2 separate regions of the Homo sapiens genome follow, and region 2 is linked to region 1. Evidence: promoter capture Hi-C in 16 types of primary human blood cells and fetal thymus (Javierre and others, 2016). All regions are on one chromosome and are shown on one strand. The core of a region is centred on a gene start or on the middle of the fragment in contact, and the rest is flanking DNA. Distances in the headings are between cores, read along the strand shown. Region 1 holds the start of CCDC17 (coiled-coil domain containing 17). Region 2 overlaps MAST2 (microtubule associated serine/threonine kinase 2).

Evidence for each region. Contacts are between HindIII fragments. The CHiCAGO score rates a contact against its expected background, and 5 or more counts as called.
Region 2: a contact is called between a fragment that was not itself captured here and the fragment with the promoter of CCDC17 in region 1, in 2 of 17 cell types (M1 macrophages and endothelial precursors). The highest score is 8.0, in M1 macrophages.

The regions. Positions count from the first base shown.
Region 1 is chr1:45,622,324-45,625,430 of GRCh38, reverse strand. It overlaps CCDC17 (coiled-coil domain containing 17), which reads left to right and starts at 1,377. Exons shown (of 13, transcript NM_001114938.3): 1 at 1,377-1,695; 2 at 1,779-1,874; 3 at 1,992-2,214; 4 at 2,314-2,476; 5 at 2,597-2,680; 6 at 2,764-2,882; 7 at 3,083-3,107. The coding sequence starts at 1,522. The HindIII fragment of the contact is 6,664 bases long and covers 1-2,275 here.
Region 2 is chr1:45,956,689-45,959,475 of GRCh38, reverse strand. It overlaps MAST2 (microtubule associated serine/threonine kinase 2), which reads right to left. Exons shown (of 29, transcript NM_015112.3): 5 at 1-90. Among named protein-coding and RNA genes, the nearest start is that of MAST2, 150 kb to the right of the region's middle. The HindIII fragment of the contact is 160 bases long and covers 1,432-1,591 here.

The DNA.
Region 1 (3,107 bases), core at 128-2,627:
AGGTCAGGAGATCAAGACCATCCTGGCTGACACGGTGAAACCCCATCTCTACTAAAAATACAAAAAAAATTAGCCGGGCACAGTGGTGGGCACCTGTAGTCTCAGCTACTCGGGAGGCTGAGGCAGGAGAATGGCTTGAACCCGGAAGGCGGAGCTTGCAGTGAGCCCAGATAGTGCCACTGCACTTCGGCCTGGGCGAAAGAGCGAGACTCCGTCTAAAAAAAAAAAAAAAAAAAAGCCGGGTGTGGTGGCAGGTGCCTGTAGTCCCAGCTACTGGGGAGGCTGAGGCAGGAGAATGGTGTCAACCTGGGAGGCAGAGCTTGCAGTGAGCCGAGATCGTGCCATTGCACTGTAGCCTGGGCAACAGAGCGAGACTGTCTCAAAAAAAGAAGAGAAAAGGGTGTTTCTTGGCCGGGCGCAGTGCCTTACGCCTGTAATCCCAGCACTTTGGGAGGCCAAGGCGGGCAGATCACGAGGTCAGGAGATCAAGACCATCCTGGCTAACATGGTGAAACCCCGTCTCTACTAAAAAATACAAAAAATGAGCCAAGCGTGGTGGTGGGCACCTGTAGTCTCAGCTACTTGGGAGGCTGAGGCAGGAGAATGGCGTGAACCCAGGAGGCAGAGCTCATTGCAGTGAGCTGAGATCGCGCCACTGCACTTCGGCCTGGGCGACAGCGAGACTCCATCTCAAAAAGAAAAAAAAAAAAGTAAAGAGGGTTTCTTAAGAAATATGCGGTCACCTCAGAGCTCCTCCATATATTTTGGGAGTGGGAGTGGAGTGAAGAATTTCACCAACAGTTCAGGGTCTTTCTGGCTTCTGGCCAATCTTGGGAGAGAGAAGGGGTTTTTTTCTGGACTTGATTCCCTCATCTGATAGATTCATTCTGTTCGCCCACAGCTTTCATTTCTTGGGCTGTGCTGATTATCTTCGTCTACAGCTGAAAAATGAGGAATCAGGGAATGGGAGTTAGGGAGACTGCTATCCCTGGTGCGACATGGTTTCCAGGCAGAATGCTGGAAAGGTCAGAGTGCCTCCTTTGCCAGGTAGTTCTCTGGATTGGAGAATGGTACAAACTGTTACATCCACTTGGGAGTACAGCAATGAAAAAGATGACACTTGCCTTTTAGAGGCTATTAAATGACCAATGATGTAGTAAGTGATAAGGGCCCAGCCTAGTCTAGGAGGCAGCTGCTTTTTCCTCTTTATTAATAGTCAGGGAAACCAAGCTACAATTAGAGACTTGCCCACGTTCAGACTTTGTAACACTTTTTCAAGCCAGTGGCTCCTCCCAAACGGCCGAGGTTTCCCCACCCATTCTCCTGACCTGCCCAGCCCTGTGGTTGCTGTCCAGGGAGCTAAGGCTCTCCCCAAACAAACTTGAAGATCTCACAGACCTAATAGACACGGCCTTTCCTCTCTGCCTCTGGCTTTATGTCTCTTTCATCCTCCTCTGCCTTTCCCCTGCCCTTGATCCCTTCTGCAGGTCTTGGCTGGTTTCAGGAAACGGGTCCCATCCCATGGACTCCCACTCTGGGGAGCCTGCGCTCCTGCCCTGTGGGACCTGTGACATGGTTTTCCGCTCCTCAGCTCTGTTAGCCACCCATACTCAGCGCTTCTGCATTGGCCACCCGACCCAAGAGATGACATTTGGAGCACAGGCATCAGTTGCCACTGAACCCCAGCGGGCCGCGGTAAGGGCCTCCATGGCCATGGGTGGGGATTCAAAGGAGCCAGGACCTTTATGATTCCTCATCCTACTACACCCTATCCCCAGGTTGTGCCACAAGAACACCAGGGCGTGCCACAAGAACCCCAGGGCCTCCCAGACCAGCAGGCCAGTAGATCTGCTCTAAAGAGGTTAACAGAGGAGGTAGAGCTACCTACCTTCCCCCAGGGCTCAAAACGTTGAGCGTCTTCCCCAAACCTGTAGATCATACTTGGGACAGATTCTGCCCACGCAGAGATCGCGGATCGCTGTTACCTCCAGGTGCAGTGGCTGCGGCTATCCCTACAGGAAATGCGGCCCTGGATAACAGAGGTCCCCAGGGTGTTCGCGGGGCCCTGGACACGTTCCGAGGCGCGGCCTCAGAGTCCCATGTCCGAGGCGGTGGGAAGCCCCAGCGAGCGGCTGCGGGCGCTGTTCAGGACTCGCGCGAGGCGCGTGGCGGAGATGGAAGCGCAGAGCCGGGCCCTGCAGCTACGCGGCGAGGGTGAAGGAGATGGGGGACGGGGACCAAGGACCTCCTCTGCCCTCGCCGTTTGGCTTAAGCTTGCTCGGGCCGGTTCTGACTCGGCCCGCATTCCCTCAGAACTGAGCCGACGCCTCCAAGTTGTGGCCTGTACGCGGGGCGGGATGTCCCGCCTCTTCGGCCTGGAGCAGGAGATTCGAGAACTACAAGCTGAGGCCGGGAGGACGCGGGGAGCTCTAGAGGTGTTGGGGGCCCGCATTCAGGAGCTGCAGGCGGAGCCAGGGTGAGACCCGACTAAGCGGATCCCCGGAACATGCGGCTCCGGGGTGGGAGGGGCGGGCTGGCTGCAGCCCCGGGGCCTCTGATGCGTTACCGTCTCCCTGCGCGTCGCCTGCCACCCCAGGAACCCGCTGAGCTCCCGGCGAGAGGCAGAACTTTATTCTCCAGTGCAAAAGGCCAACCCGGGAACTCTGGCTGCCGAAATCCGGTGAGAGCCGGGGCCGGAGATGGGCATAGGGCGAAGCGCTGAGCAGTTCTGGAAAGACGGCCTTCCTGTTCCCCACTCCCTAGGGCGCTGCGGGAGGCCTACATTCGAGACGGGGGCCGGGACCCCGGCGTGCTGGGCCAGATATGGCAGTTGCAGGTGGAGGCGTCTGCACTGGAGCTGCAGCGGTCGCAGACCCGCAGAGGTGAACAGGAGGGCCTCTCGCCAGCGGTGGTCAGTCCTGGGAGGAGAAAAGAACTCGAGGGAGGGCCTGTGGCTGTGGATGGCATGTGAGCTGACAAGTCCAGCCTTATCCGAAGAGCCTTAGCGCTGGAGAGCTGCTCACAGCCGGACGCGGCCAGTCACCAGAGGTCAAAGGTGACAGGTCACACTTGTTCATCGCAGGAAGGGCAGGTGCCACCTCAGGGGA
Region 2 (2,787 bases), core at 262-2,761, 330 kb before region 1:
GTGTGGCCATGGAGTGGTGAGTGTGGCCGTGGTAGTGTAGGTGATGTGCTAGAGGTCACAATCAAGCTCTTGCGGTTACTTGTCCGACAACTGCAATGAAAACAAAATATGAATTATAATAGGGCCACACCATGGGCCCAGAGACCTTGAGTGGTTTTTAAGGAACTAAAGAGGGACACCATTCCACGGGCCGCACAGTATACTTCTTTAAACTGAACTGGGTCAGCAATTACACTCGGCACCAGTTAGATTCCATAAAGCACTGTGTTCCTCCTTGGAATAACTTTTTTCACTGCCTTGACTTTCATCTTGTATTGCCACTGTGCTTTTCCAATGTTTAGTTTTATTTCCCAAGCAAACACAAGGAGCTCCCTACGGGCAAAAACCATGTTTTAAACAGTATCTAATGAAGAATGACCACTGCAAATTGATTTACAAAATAAAAAGCACAAGTCAAAATATTCTCATATTCTCTAAGAACCCCCCAAAACTATTAATCTATGAAATTATTATTTTTAGAACGTTTAGTCCGTGAATTAAGTAATATTCTCATTTCAGAATAAATGTCAGAACAGCCCTGGGTTTCTTCTATAAACGGGCTTTCCACTACATGTTAATGTCTGAAGCTTTTTCTTCTGGTTGGAGAAAACCAGATGGTGATGAAAAGCCATTTCATGCAACATCTATTACTGAAAAGTCTATATCAATTTATTTGAAAGTCAGTCTATCTTTTGAAGGCATTAGGGAAGTTTGCCATTTATATTCATCCAAATATTTATTGAACACCTACTACACACTAGGCAGTGTCTTAGGAGGGAAGCAGTAGGGAACAAAAGAACAGTCTCTATCCTCATAACTGGAGTGAACAGTGCTGTGGGAAAAGGAAGAGGAAGAAAGAACAGAAAGAGGGAGAGAGAGGGAGAGGGGGAGAGGGGGATAGAGGGAGAGAGAGAGAGAGGGAGGGAGGGAGAGGGAGAAAAGGAGAAAGGAAATAAGAGACTGGTGTGGGAGTGCTAACTAGGGAAGTGAAGTCTGATGAGAGAGCTGAATGATATGAAGGACTCAGACAAAAGTAGAGCTGAGAGGCAGAGAGAAAAGTAAAGGTAAAGGCACTGAGACAAGAACAAATTTGGGATGTTCAAGAAATAGCAAAGAAGTCAAGAGTGGATGACAGGAGGGGAGAATGACAGAAAAAGAAGTAGGTTATAGAAGCTATGGGGAAGGCCACAGCCAGACTCTGTAGGGCTGATGGAAGGAATGAGATCAATCTCAAGAAAGAGATTATCATTAGAAATGATAACCATTTTCCCCTAAGAAACCATCAGGAGGAATCCAATCATGCCCATACCCCTAACTACCTCAGTCACCATGGAATGCCTTCCACTCTCTAACCTGACAGTCTCCCACTACTCTGAACCTTTGAGAAAAGCTTATACTTTGCCTCCTTGAACTCAGTATGTCATCAGCAAACTGCCTATATCCCCAATTTCTCTTCTGAGTGTCTGCTTTAAATTCTAGCTCCAAATGAAACGTTGCTACCTCCCAAGGACACCAAAGTCCTGGCGAAATCCCAACCCTTTACAACCAAGCTTCCCATCTATTTTGCAACTGCACCTGGGAACTTAGAGTGACTGAAGAAAAACCCAGAATCATGCTGGCTGATGTGTCTTTATATTCACAGTGACAAACATCAAGTGGGGCCTCATTACTGCCTGACAATCTTAGCACATTTACCAGAGTAATGTGTTTGCTCACTCTCCAAGACAACTAATTCACATTTTCTCCTTAAACCTCCAATACCCCTTTTCCTTCCTCAAATCTGTACAGAAAATAAAAATTAAAAAAAAATAGCTGGGCATGTTGGCACATGCCTACAGTCCTAGCTACTTGGGTGACTGAGGCAGGAGGACTGCTTGACTCCAGGGGTTCATGGCTACAGTGAGCCAATGATTGTGCCAGAAAAAGAAGAACACGTACAGTTGGGCCAATTAGAAAACAAATAACATATTTAAACCCAATCATACCAATAATCATATTAAATATAAATGTTCTAAGTACACAGCCAGTTAAGGCAGAGATTGTCAGACTGGATAAAATAGCAGGATCCACTTATATGCTGTTATTTGTGAAAGCCCGAAACTACAAACCACCTAAAATATGCACCAACAGATGAGTGACAAACAAATCACAGTATATCCATATAATGGAATTCTACTCAGCAATAACAAGGAATGAATAATTGATTCACACAATGGATGAATCTCACAAATAATTATGCTGAAAGCAAGATGCCAGACAAAAAAGAGTATGTTGTATGCTTTCATGGATGAGTTGAACAATTTGCCTCTCAGGTGTATTCAATCAAAAAATTTGTCCCTGGATATTTATACTAAAATATACTAAAAACAAAAGTCAAACATAATGTTACTTAACAGGAGACTGTTCTGACACATGCGCTAAAAGGGAATTGAAAACATTATTTCCAAGTCAATCATCCCACATAAATTCGACCAAATACGAGTCCAACACATTGTGACGAATTCCTCTCATGGTCTTGCACTTTGCTTTGCATTTATTTCAATAGCACTAGATGTTTTGGGTATGTATGCCAAGAGATGATATGAACTGTGCTCAACTAGGCACTGCAAAATAGGTGGCAAGGTTTGGGCAGAACAGTCACCAAAAATTTCCAAATAACCAATAGCTGGCTGATGGGTGTATCCACCATACCAAAAGCCCATTATTTCTCTCTCCAGAGCATGGCTATAGTGACACTTGATTTCGTGG